4 separate regions of the Homo sapiens genome follow, and all the other regions are linked to region 2. The links are contacts of gene promoters, found by promoter capture Hi-C in blood cells and fetal thymus (Javierre and others, 2016). All regions are on one chromosome and are shown on one strand. The core of a region is centred on a gene start or on the middle of the fragment in contact, and the rest is flanking DNA. Distances in the headings are between cores, read along the strand shown.

Region 1 (3,236 bases), core at 563-3,062, 220 kb after region 2:
TAGAATCATTTAAAGTGTTATGTGATAAGGCAAGGTCATATTGGAAACAATTAGGCCTCTGATTAAATATGACTGATGTCTATATAAAAGGGGGAAATTCAGAGACAGCATGCATATAACAGAAAAATTATATCAAACACACATGGAAATGATAGACATCAACAAGTCAAGGAGAGAGACCTGGAACATGTACTTCCCTCACAGGCTTCAGATGAAAACAACATTGCCAAAACCTTAATTTCTGAACTGTGAAAAGATAAATTTAAGCCACTTGGTTTACAGTAATTTATTATGGCAGTGCTGGTAAGTTAATACACTTACTAAGTATCCTGAGCTATAGATATATTCTGCTACACTATATGGCTTAAAGATAATTACCCCTCACCAAATAGTAACTCCTTTCTCTGTCTGCTGCTCTGCTGACGGGAAGAGTCCAAAATGACTAGGCGATAACGATTCCTTTTGATTATAACAAAGAAACAGAGAAGCAAATACTATAATTTTTATTCACATGGAAATTTTAAAAAGCCAAAGTCATCTACTGGATTATAACTTGATAGAGTGATTAGCTGTTTGGAAATGAGTAAGCGGATATAATTGGGAGAGAATGGCATTAATTTCTATTTCCTAACCTGGTAATGGGGACATAGATGTATTTACAATGTAATACTATATCAGGTTGGAAATTAATAATTTGCATTCTTCTCAAGTGAATGATATACCTAGACAATGTTTTCAACATGTTAGAACTCCACGATGAATCAGGTGTCATCTCAACTCATCTAATCCCTTCATTGAAAAGAAATAGAAGAAATTACTTCTACTTACTTCTTCTTCTAGTTACTGCTAGTAACTAGGTTTAGGGCTAGAGCCACAGCACATGCTGGTTGGCCTGAATTTCAACGCTTACTTCTAGTTACTGCTAGTAACTAGGTTTAGGGCTAGAGCCAGAGCACATGCTGGTTGGCCTGAATCTCAAGAAGTTACGTGATAGAAAGTCCTCCATTCTCATCCCGGAAATCCCCACACTCCCAGACAAGTCAGAATGAATGGTCGTCCTAGGGCATACATTGCTTGATGCTGTCTAAATCTCAGCAGATTTCTCTGCATCCACCTGTTCTCGATCTGCTCTGTCGCATGGAACACACTGTGCAGTCACCGTCTTCCCAAGTGACATTCAAAGAACTGAAAGACACAGATGATGTGGGTGGCACAAAGAGATGCCTGTTAGTCTTGAGTCAGAATTTGGTGGGTGAATAGTCTTGGGCCCAGGCATGGATTCATTTTGTCACTGTAAATATATCAGCATCATGCTTCTCCCCACAGACACTTCCAAGTCTATATACAGCCAAACATGAGGCTGGCCAGAGAGAACTTCCTGAGCCCCCCGGATCAACAGGAACTGTCACATGACCAGATGATGGTCAGAGCAGGAATGATGCTGATGATGAGACGGGCTTCCTTTTATCTGAAACAAACTTTCTATGAGTAACTCACAATTAAGAAACAGATTAAACCCTTAGTTTAAAAGGTTCATAAGATTTCAGTAACAACTTCCCCTTTGACAATCCCAAATGGACTGTGGAAAACAATGTAAACAGCAACAAGGAAAAGTCCTGCTGATTGGTGGAAACTTTGGAGGCCAGGTGTATAAAAGGTCCAGATTGCAAGGGGTCATCAGATTTTGGGAAACTCACCTCTTAACAGAAGCCCACCCTCCATCCCTGACACCATGACCCACTGTTGCTCCCCTTGCTGTCAGCCTACCTGCTGCAGGACCACCTGCTGGCAGCCCACCACTGTGACCACCTGCAGCAGCACACCCTGCTGTCAGCCCTCCTGCTGTGTTTCCAGCTGCTGCCAGCCTTGCTGCCACCCAACTTGCTGTCAAAACACCTGCTGTAGGACCACCTGCTGCCAGCCCATCTGTGTGACCAGCTGCTGCCAGCCTTCCTGCTGTAGCACACCCTGCTGCCAGCCCACATGCTGTGGGTCCAGCTGTGGTCAGAGCAGCTCCTGTGCACCTGTGTACTGCAGAAGAACCTGCTACCACCCCACAAGTGTTTGTCTGCCTGGTTGCCTAAACCAGAGCTGTGGCTCCAACTGCTGCCAGCCCTGCTGCCGCCCAGCCTGCTGTGAGACCACCTGCTGCAGGACCACTTGTTTCCAGCCCACCTGTGTGTACAGCTGCTGCCAGCCTTCTTGCTGCTAATCAACTCCCAAGAGAACTACCATCCTCACACAACAACCTTCAGCTCAACTGACTTGTCTTTTGAGGGACTAATTTACTTTGCTGCTGACAGCCACCATGCTCTCACCCAAATTTTTATGAATTCTCTACATGTTTAAAATCTTGGGAATCTGCTTGAGGGAGGGCAGAATACTTCATCCTCATTCCCTCTTTCCTTACACCTTGTGGATCATGTGCCAGCTTCGTCTGTTCTTAATTTGGAGTCATGATCTCAGCTTTGTCTCAAAAATCAAGAGCTTCATTCTTTGCTTCTAAGGAATTTAGGTTTCTGCAACTGATCAATCATCTTTGCAATTATATTTTCATTTTAAATATCCTTCTCATGGTTCTTGTATCCTTCTTTCTTCTTTTCACGATAACTTTGGGTTATGTCTCTGGTAGCAGAGATTCTTACCTATATGTTTCTGAATAAACTCTGAACCATCTTCATCTCATATAGTGTTTTGTTTTATTTGAAAGCATTCCTGATATGGGATTTACACACATATCACATACCATAGGTATTATCCAATTTGATTCTCAAAACAGATGGTCGTGTATTATTAACTCCATTTTTTCAGCTGAGAACAATTTAATGTGTGATGTTATGTAGCTAGTAAAGGGCAGACTCTGGTCAAAGGTGAGGTCCTCTCTTTCTGCCCAAGGACACTTACGTTTAACTCCCAATATAGTAGAAAAGACACTGGAAGTCAGCACTAGCAAGACATGTACTTGAGTTTATTTAACAATGAGAGGAATAATCTGACATATTTGCAGATAACACTTTTGTTCACACACAAAAAAATCCCAAAGTAGTTCCCCACACCTCAGTGAGCAAAGGCTGCATGATATGCATTTAATGGCTGCCCTGAATGCAGAGATCTTTTTGTCTGAGCCTCTGACCAGCCATTCATTCAATTCATCTGCATCAAAAAATGCTTGAGAATTTATTGTGGACTCAGGAGACGGAGCCTCATCTGAAGAAACTTATTCTCAGTGTGATGTA
Region 2 (3,228 bases), core at 166-2,665:
AAAGACCTAATTGCACCTAGATTTTTCTAAGATAAATAAGGACATGAATTAGTGGTTATCGTAGTAGTTTTGTTCTAATAGAAACTGTGTGTTTTTGCTCTCAGAATTGTGTGACTATTTCTGGTGTATAGAAAATACTACACTGTAGTCTGATATTTTAAGCATATTTCAATGTCATGATATTATATGTCACTTAGACTAGCAAACTTCTAATCATAGTCATGACTAATGTAAACCAATGTAAGCCCCATTTGAGGAATCAATGAATACTCGATAAATGCTAACATTAATTAAAAATGGATTGTTTTGGAAGACAGCATATATGAAGAAATGGATATATACACTTCTCAAAATTGCTTTGCATTTTGAGCTCAGAATTTCAGATGACTGTGAGGACTAGGATAATCAAATTATTTATACACACCAGCACAGTGATCAATTCATTTAGTCAATTAAGGAAGAAAGAAAAATCAATGTCAGAATCAATGGAAACTAAAATCAAGTATTTTTAAAACATTCTGTTAATCTCTAGACTCTAGCATAGTGCTTGCACAGTGGATGTCTTCCAATAATATCTATTAAATAAATATCTGTTAAATAAAAAGCTTCTATAAAATGAACTACCACATTTTTTACTTTTTAACTTATCACAAATAACCAGTATCTATTTTTTCGATAAATTCCACTATGAGAGCTCTTATTCTGTTGGGGTAAATCTTGGATAGTGTGATAACCTACTGTTCAGGTTTAGGTAGGCATTCCACTTTCCCTAATGGGAGACATGAAAATAAATAATCACAAGGTCATATTTGCTAAGCCAGAATAAAGTTTATTAACAAATGGTCAAAATGGTTATTTCTCAAAGAGTGATGAAATAGCCTAAAAGACAGAAGGGAGGTCTCCAATGGTACCCAAATGTGCAAATAATTAAGAAGATTCATCAAGACTTGGCCCCGGGGATTGGGATGGCCTTAGCCTTGATGTAGGCAGTAGTGAGTGCTGAAGCCCAGATGGTGCAGAGGACATTGGGCAGCCACCTCACGGAACCTGTGCAGACTCGGCTGGTTAACAGCGGGGCTCACAGGGACTCTCACAGCCAGGCTGAACATAGGTGGTCAGGTTGATCCCACTCAGTCCGGGAGTCGGGTGACAGTTGTTGAGCAGCCAGCAAGTTGGCACATAGGTATCAGGCTTGCAGCAGGGTGGGGGGCAGGTGTCACAGCAGATGGGCTGAAGGAGGCTGATCTCATGTGGGCAGGTGCTGGGTAGGCAGACTCCACAGCGGCAGCTTTTATCAAATGAGCAGAAGGTGGTGGCAGGGCCGGTGGGGACGCTGCAGGAGCGGAGAGCACAGCAATACATGGCAATGGGAGGTGGGTTTTTGTTGAGTTGAGAGAAGTCTGTTGGTGTCTCGATGCTCCTCTCTTCTGCTCTGGCTCTTATATACCCATCTCCCTGGGCGTCAGCCTATTACTGAGGGTTTTTCCCCCATGTTTCAGTTTATAGTTATTTCCATAAAAAATGCCTAATTACTTAAGTGTTTATTACCTAAGATACACTGCTCACCTCATAAAAGAGATTTAGGTTGTTTTGTTGTCAAATTAGGACTATTCACATTGCCAGTGTGTCACTACACAGAAATCTTCATTCCAGTCTTCAAAGGTACCGGGCCATTATCTTCTAATCATTATACCCTCACTAATAATGGCTCGGTATGCCAGGCATCTGCAAACGTTTCCCACTTCTTTTGTTTACTTTTCAGATGAAGAGGACAAGTAAGCTTTTTGTTTGCTGTTCTACCAGTGACTACAGGTTCTATGTGATCCTTTAGGCCCTCAGGCTGAAAAAGTGATATAACATTTTAGATTTATTATTTGTGGCTCCAATAAACTGAATGAAGATGAATGGATAGAATCTATAGAGAAATAGATTTTGGTTTTGTGTAAAGAGGCACTTTCAAACAGAGCTATAACAAATCGTTTGTTCTGCATTCCTTTCAAATATGCTCTGAACAATAACTTGGTAAGAACATGCAGGTGGGAATGAAGACCTTCATGGGTGACAAAGATGGGTGTCCTTTAAGCTCCATCCAACTGTGTTATAAATGGAGATTATTTATAACCAAAAGGCTGGTTGTATTGGGCCATTCAGAAGCTAAATGATGCAGTATTTACCAGACTGAGTTCCATGAACACTGGTTCCAAGGGACTTGAAAGTGTTTTCTGGTAAGTAAGTTTGGGAAATGCTGAATTCTTCATTGTTGGGCCTCTCGGAGCCTTTAATGTGCTAAAATGCTCTATGACTTTTCAATACAGAGATATAGCATATATTTTTCTCCAAACTTACTTGACCATGGACTGCTTTTTGTTTGTTTTCAGAGATTAGCTCTATAGGTCAGTGCTTTATGAAACATACTTGGGGAGATTTAGCAACATCTTACAGCAAGCTTGTTCAACCTGTGGCCCAGAAAGGCATTGAATGCAGCACAACACAAATTCATAAACTTTCTTAAAACATTATGAGATTTTTTTGTGATTTTTTTTCTTTTTTTGCTCATCAGCTGTCATTAGTGTTAGTGTATTTTATGTGTGGCCCAAGACAATTCTTCTTTCAATGTGGCCCAGGGAAGCCAAAACATTGAACACCCCTGTCTTACTTCCAGGCTCTGTGGTCCAGAATAGAGACATTTCCGAGTTTCATCTAAACCACTAAAACTCTAAAAATAAAGTTTTAAAAGTAGATAAAGGTAGAAAATTTAGTATGATGATTTAGAATTACTTTAGAATATGAAAAATACTAAACTGGTAAAACCTTTAGAAATGGCTTACTTAGAAAGGCTTAAAAACATGTACATATTTTCTTGACCCATTTTTTCAGATAAGATGGCTCAAGTTCTAAAGTAGAAAATTGCACAATGCAGAGGAATCAGAAGCCAAATGAGATGCAAATCAACAAGATGTTGGATTAAAAAAATGCTTAGCATGAAACTGCTTTCTTTTTAGCCATTTTCTTATTGGAATGATTTTGCAGTTTTGGATTCCTATGCTAGAATTTACATCTCTCTTAGATATTTACATATCAAAATTAGAATTTACATATAAAATGCTCATTGATTGAACACCTGTTGTATGTTGGGCATCATGCAAAAAGTCGCAATAGGCTCCTGCCCTTACAGGGGTCATAGAGAAGAAGACAGACACAGAGAAGTAAACCAGCAAACAATAACAA
Region 3 (2,921 bases), core at 44-2,543, 160 kb after region 2:
TGTCCATTTAATGGCTTAAAATCATTGGGAAGAAAATATTCTTGTCCAGATGTAATAAGATCTATACCATCTACTTTTCCTTGATTCTCACCTTGATGGCATCTTCTAGACCAAATTATCTTCCTCTTCCTCTACACAGGGCTATCAGGTGATACTCTGCATTTGAAATTACATTTCTCACTCTCTTTTCCTGTACCCAGTACCAGAATGAGATTTAGTCAGTTACATTACCAATTATTCATTTATTCCATTGACCAAGGGAGAGGAAAGCCCTTCTACTCAGTGTGGCCTCTGGCCTGGGACAAGAAGAAAATGTCCTATTTTGAGTGTCATTTTTGAGCAATGAGGAAAGGTTTAATGGCCACACACAGACACCTCCTGCTTTATTCTGTTCATTCAAGCTTTACAGAAGCACCTGGCTCAAGGTCCTGCCTTGCTTATAAAACAGAGGCATTAAATGGATAATCTGAGAGACCCAAGTTGCCAGCCATTGGGATTACAAATTTGATGTAGATTCTCCTTCAGGGGAGTTCACAGCTTGCTAGAAGGAACACACACACACATACACACACACACACACAGTATTATACTGTGATAAAGTAACATCAAAGGAGCTCATTATAGTTTAATTAAAAGAATCATACTTAAAACAAATTAGCAAACATGACAATTTGGTGGATTAATTCATAAATAAATATTTTAATTTAGTTTGTGTCTATTTTTATGATATTGTAAAATTTACATACACTGAAATGAACAAATCCCAAATGTACTATTTGATGAGTTTTTATAAATGGGTACATCCATGTAACCTCCACACCTATTAAGATAGAGAATGATGTAATTTGGCTGTGTCCCCACCCAAATCTCATCTTGAATTGTAGCTCCCGTACTCCCCATGTGTCATGGTGTCGTGGTGTCGTGGTGTCATGGGAGGGACCCGGTGGGAGGTAATTGAATCAAGGGGGCTGATTTTTCCCATGCTGTTCTCATAATAGTGAATAAGCCTCATGAGATCTGATGGTTTTATAAAGACCAGTTCCCCTGCACATGCTCTTTTGCCTTCTGCCATGTAAGAGATGCCTTTGCTCCTCCTTCACCTTCTGCCATGATTGTGAGGCCTCCCCTGCCATGTGGAACTGCAAGTCTTTTTTAGAGACTCACAATTAAACCTCCTTTTCTTTATAAATTACCCAGTCTCTGGTATTTCTTCATGCAGTATGAAAATGGATGAATACAGAGAACATTTTCATTATACTAGAAAGTTCCCAAATGTCACTTCAGTAAACTCATCACTTCATAGAGGCAGCCATATGGGGAAATTATTAGCAATGTTCTAATAATTTTTCCACCATAGGTTAGTTTTGATTTGAACATTCAAACAAATTATATATAGCATAATTGTTTTTTCTGTCTGTCATCTTTGCCTTGATATGTGGCTGTGAGAGTCACAATGTTGATGCATGCATCACTAGTTCATTCAGAGCTATACTAATAACTGCCAGGGCTTCATTTTAACTATACCAACCAATGTCATGGTAGGGTGACCAGCTGTTTCTGATTGCCCAGTCTGAGGGCATTCCCTGAACTCAGGGCTCTCATTGCTAGAACTAGGAAGTCCCAAGAAGAAAGAGACAGGTTGTTCACTCTATGATAGCATCCTTAAATGTCTTAATTAAGATCATTAAAGACCAAACACCTTGCAATATTTCTGTCACATTAACTTGTTTAGCAAACACTTGATTTACAAGTCTTTACTTTATGGGCTGTGTTTGCAAAGCTGGAGAACATGAAAGATTGAAACAATTGTATTGTGAAGCCACATGGTGTCCTGAAGAGGCAGTTGTTCATTTGATTTGCTGTATATCAGGGGCTGAGGAAAAATTAAAAACATAAAAGAAAAAGGTTTTGATTATGAGGGGAGAGGTTTCTATATAAATTTATGGAGATTAAGAAAACCCTATTGCCACAGCTACAAAGGCAGGTACATTCTGAATGTAGGGAAATGTATGGAGAATCACAACCCCTCATCCAGGGGTTCTACAAGTTGGCTGAATATTAGAGTCACTCGGGGAGTGTTAAAAACTACTGATGCCTGACTCTTGCTCAGAAAAAATCTGACTTAAGTGCTGTGGGTTATGGCCTGGGCACCAGAATTTTTCAAGTTTCTCAGGTAAAGGGCAGCCAAGCTTGAGACCCATCTGCTTAAACTGTTGTATGACATACATTGTATAATATTCAACTGGAAACAGAAGCAACTAAAATAATTAAAATACAATTGGTAGTATCTACGTAGTAGAGAAAATGATACTGGATTTTAAACACTGAATTTGGAGTATTGTAAACTAAAACACTGATAATTATCTTTGCTATTTTAGATGACTCTAATACCAAAACTGACAGTCCACATGGATGATAATGGAACAACAGGGCATGAACCACCATGGGAAATTCGTATAGACAGCACACTGGATTTTTACAAAATGAGCCTCAAAAGCAGGCGAGATGTCTGTCACTGTATGTATTTGCTGCTAAATTCTACTCACTGTCTGGTGAAGCATACTTGATATTAACTTGAGGACCACACACACAAGTTACGCCAAGTCTATCTAAACTGTCCTTCTTTTATTATATAGACTAGCAGAAGGAGTGTAAGTTTTTCTTTCATATACCTTTTTAAATTTTAAACTAATTTTATGGTTGTCTTTTTAGAAGTTCATGATTAAAGACTTCACTTAGGTAAACATCAAGGAAATTAGAATGAAGTGAACCCAACTGATATTTGCAATCAACACTGAAGAACATGTGTTGTGTTTACCCCGCAACCTGGACGCATCGTATTAACATACCCTTTAAAGAATGACATGGGAAATGGGCTTCTCTTGTCAGGTATCACATCTATTATGTTAGTACTCTGACAT
Region 4 (2,889 bases), core at 305-2,804, 200 kb after region 2:
AACCCCACCTTATTGTTCCTTAAGTCCTGAGGCTTCTAGCCTGGCTGCTTTCTTCACTCCACCTTTCAGAGTCCTCTCGTGTTTGCTTTATATATAATATCCAGAATTTTTAGTTGTACTTAGCAGAAAGAATATGGAAAAGTCTGTCCACTCCATCTTCCCAGTCAGCAAATCTTCAACTGGGTTTTAACTAAACATAATAAATGCATTTAAAGACATAAAGGAAGCTATTACCAATATAGACAAATACAAAAACACACACACACACAACATGAATAAGAACCAACCAGAGACTATCCTGCAACGGCATTAACATTTTGGTTTTGATCATTGGGCTGTGACAAGAAACACACACTGAAGTACATAGGGATAAAGTGGTATTTAGTGATAAAGGGAAATTCTATCTGCAACTTACTTTTAAAAACCAACAGTAGTAACACATATATGTATAGAAATAATGTTAAAGAAGCATGGTAAAATGTTAACATTTGAGGAATCCAAGTGAAGGCATATGGGAATCCTTTGTACTGTGTTTACAATTTTCTATGAGTATGAAATTATTTCAAAATGAAAAATTAATAAAAACAAACATGTATAATGGGGTAGGAGACACAAGCAGGCATAATATCTGATACTAAATTAATAATAGAGCATATAGTCATTAAAGTACACAATAAGTGAGATAAGCTGCAGAAGATATACTGACTTGGAAGACCAAAATGGAAGAATCTCTAATGTTAAGGAAAAAATGTGTAACTCAATTATAATGAAAATATTACATATCAAGACTTGTGGGGTGTTATAAAATGATCTTTGATAAAATGTACACACTTTAAATAGCCTTTAATATTTAAATATTAAACAAGAATAAAACCTAAAAATAAATGAACTAAGTGTTCACCTAAGTGAATAAGAAAAAGGAAAACAACCAAAATAGCATAAAATGTAAATCAATGAACTAGTTAAAAACGACATCACAGAGAAGATGAACAAAGCCAAAATTTCTTTTTCAAAAAAAATACCAATAAATGATAAGCCATTGAAAAGATTGATCAAGAAATGTAAAGAAGACACAAATAAATAATATTCTGGATGAAAATGAGAACATATCCAGCAATAAAGCTGAAAATGTTCCATAATCAAAGGAATCATAATCAAACCTGTTTCCAGTATTTACATGGAAAAGTATTTACATGGAAAAGATGAACTTGGATTCTGATCACTCATCATGTAGGAAAAAAATCAATTCCAGGTGTATCAATATCTTGAAGGTCAAAAAAAATCTTAAATCCTCACTAGATGATTTATGTGATTTTTTTTATTTTTAGGTAGATAAATACCTCCTGACCAAGACAAAAATATTATTATTCGAAAAGAAATGACTGATAATTTTAACTGGATAAAGCTTTAGAAAACTTAACCATCAAAAATCACATTTCAGACTGAGAGAAGGAATTGTGATAAACCCCTTTAACGCCTATCTCTCCTCTGCTCTCTATGTGGACTCTATTTCTTCTGGCATTTGGCCATAACAGCTGCAGCTGCTGCAGCAGGTGGACTGGCAGCAGGATGTGCTGCAGCAGCAATTTTGAAAACATACAAACCCATGTGTTTCTTTTTTTACCCCATGTGTCTTCCTTCAAGGATCATAACCCAAAGCTGATTGTCATCCAATATCTGCAAACAGTTGTTTTATATATTTACAAAGCTTTTATTATTGTTTATAGCAGGAGGATAAATCTTATACTAGCTTCTACATTACAGGTGGCATCACAAGCCCTCCCTAAACTTGGTTTTTAACTCATCACCATGACTCAACATCATCCTATCTTCAGAGGTACTTTCCAAAGTAAATAGCAATAAGGAAAAACAGATGGTGACTAACAATTGTCCTGACATCTCACTAAGCTACATAGGACCTGTTAGATGACCAAATACTGTACTCAGCTTTAAAAATGAGGATCAGTGCTTAATTGGTAGGGAGAATGATTCATTTCTCAGTTCAGGAAAATAGTCCTGACTGGTTATTTGTCAATTAAGAAAGCAAATAAATCAATTACTCAAAGAAAATTCACAGCACTGAATAGACAACTTCCTCCTTGGGACATTTCCCAAAAGACTAGAGAAGTATCAAAGACAAGTTCTGCTCATTAATCAAAACTTTGGGGTACCATGTATAAAAGGTTCAGATTGAATAACGTTATCAAACTCTAGGAAACTCACCTCTGAACAGGAGTGCACCCTCCACCCCTGACGCCATGACCCACTGCTGCTCCCCTTGCTGCCAGCCTACGACGTGCTGCAGGACCACCTGCTGTGTGTCCAGCTGCTGCCAGTCTTGTTGCCACCCCCCCAGTTGCTGCAACACATCCTGCTGCCAACCTAGCTGCTGTGCACCCGTCTACCAGAGAACGTGCTACCATTCCATGTGTGTCTGCCTGCCTAGTTGCCTAGACCAGATATGTGGATCCAGCTGCTGCCAGCCCTGCTGCCTGCTGCCCAGCCTACTGTGAGGCCACCTGCTGCAGGACCACTTGCTGCCAGTACACCTGTGTGACAAGCTGCTGCCAGTCTTCCTGCTGCAGCACACCCTGCTGCCAGCCCACCTGCTGTGGGTCCAGCTGTTACGGCCAAACTGGCAGTGGGTCCAGCTGCTGCCAGCCCAGCTTCTGTGCACCCATCTACTACAGGAGAACTTGCTACCACCCCATGTGTGTCTGCCTGACAGGTTGCCTAAACCAGAGCTATGGATCCAGCTGCTGCTAGCCCTGCTGCCAATCAGCCTGTTGTGTGTCTAGGGGCTGCCAGCCTTGCAGTTATTGATCAACTTACCACAGATTACTACCTGCATAGAATAAACTTCCATCATCAGACCAGCCAGGTATCCAT

The links. The method cuts DNA at HindIII sites, captures the fragments that hold promoters and counts their contacts. A CHiCAGO score of 5 or more calls a contact.
Region 1: a fragment that was not itself captured here is called in contact with the fragment with the promoter of KRTAP3-1 in region 2 in 2 of 17 cell types (endothelial precursors and naive B cells); the score reaches 6.8 in endothelial precursors.
Region 3: a contact is called between a fragment that was not itself captured here and the fragment with the promoter of KRTAP3-1 in region 2, in 1 of 17 cell types (endothelial precursors). The highest score is 6.1, in endothelial precursors.
Region 4: a fragment that was not itself captured here is called in contact with the fragment with the promoter of KRTAP3-1 in region 2 in 4 of 17 cell types (endothelial precursors, total CD8 T cells, megakaryocytes and 1 more); the score reaches 8.2 in endothelial precursors.

What each region holds. Positions count from the first base shown.
Region 1 is chr17:41,230,770-41,234,005 of GRCh38, forward strand. It overlaps KRTAP9-3 (keratin associated protein 9-3), which reads left to right and starts at 1,680. Exons shown (of 1, transcript NM_031962.3): 1 at 1,680-2,685. The coding sequence starts at 1,733. The coding sequence ends at 2,212. The HindIII fragment of the contact is 5,484 bases long and covers 1-3,236 here.
Region 2 is chr17:41,007,713-41,010,940 of GRCh38, forward strand. KRTAP3-1 (keratin associated protein 3-1) reads right to left here and starts at 1,416. Exons shown (of 1, transcript NM_031958.2): 1 at 809-1,416. The coding sequence starts at 1,362. The coding sequence ends at 1,066. The HindIII fragment of the contact is 1,175 bases long and covers 604-1,778 here.
Region 3 is chr17:41,168,341-41,171,261 of GRCh38, forward strand. No RefSeq gene overlaps it. Among named protein-coding and RNA genes, the nearest start is that of KRTAP4-3, 1.6 kb to the left of the region's middle. The HindIII fragment of the contact is 1,788 bases long and covers 400-2,187 here.
Region 4 is chr17:41,210,448-41,213,336 of GRCh38, forward strand. It overlaps the pseudogene KRTAP9-12P. Among named protein-coding and RNA genes, the nearest start is that of KRTAP9-2, 15 kb to the right of the region's middle. The HindIII fragment of the contact is 303 bases long and covers 1,404-1,706 here.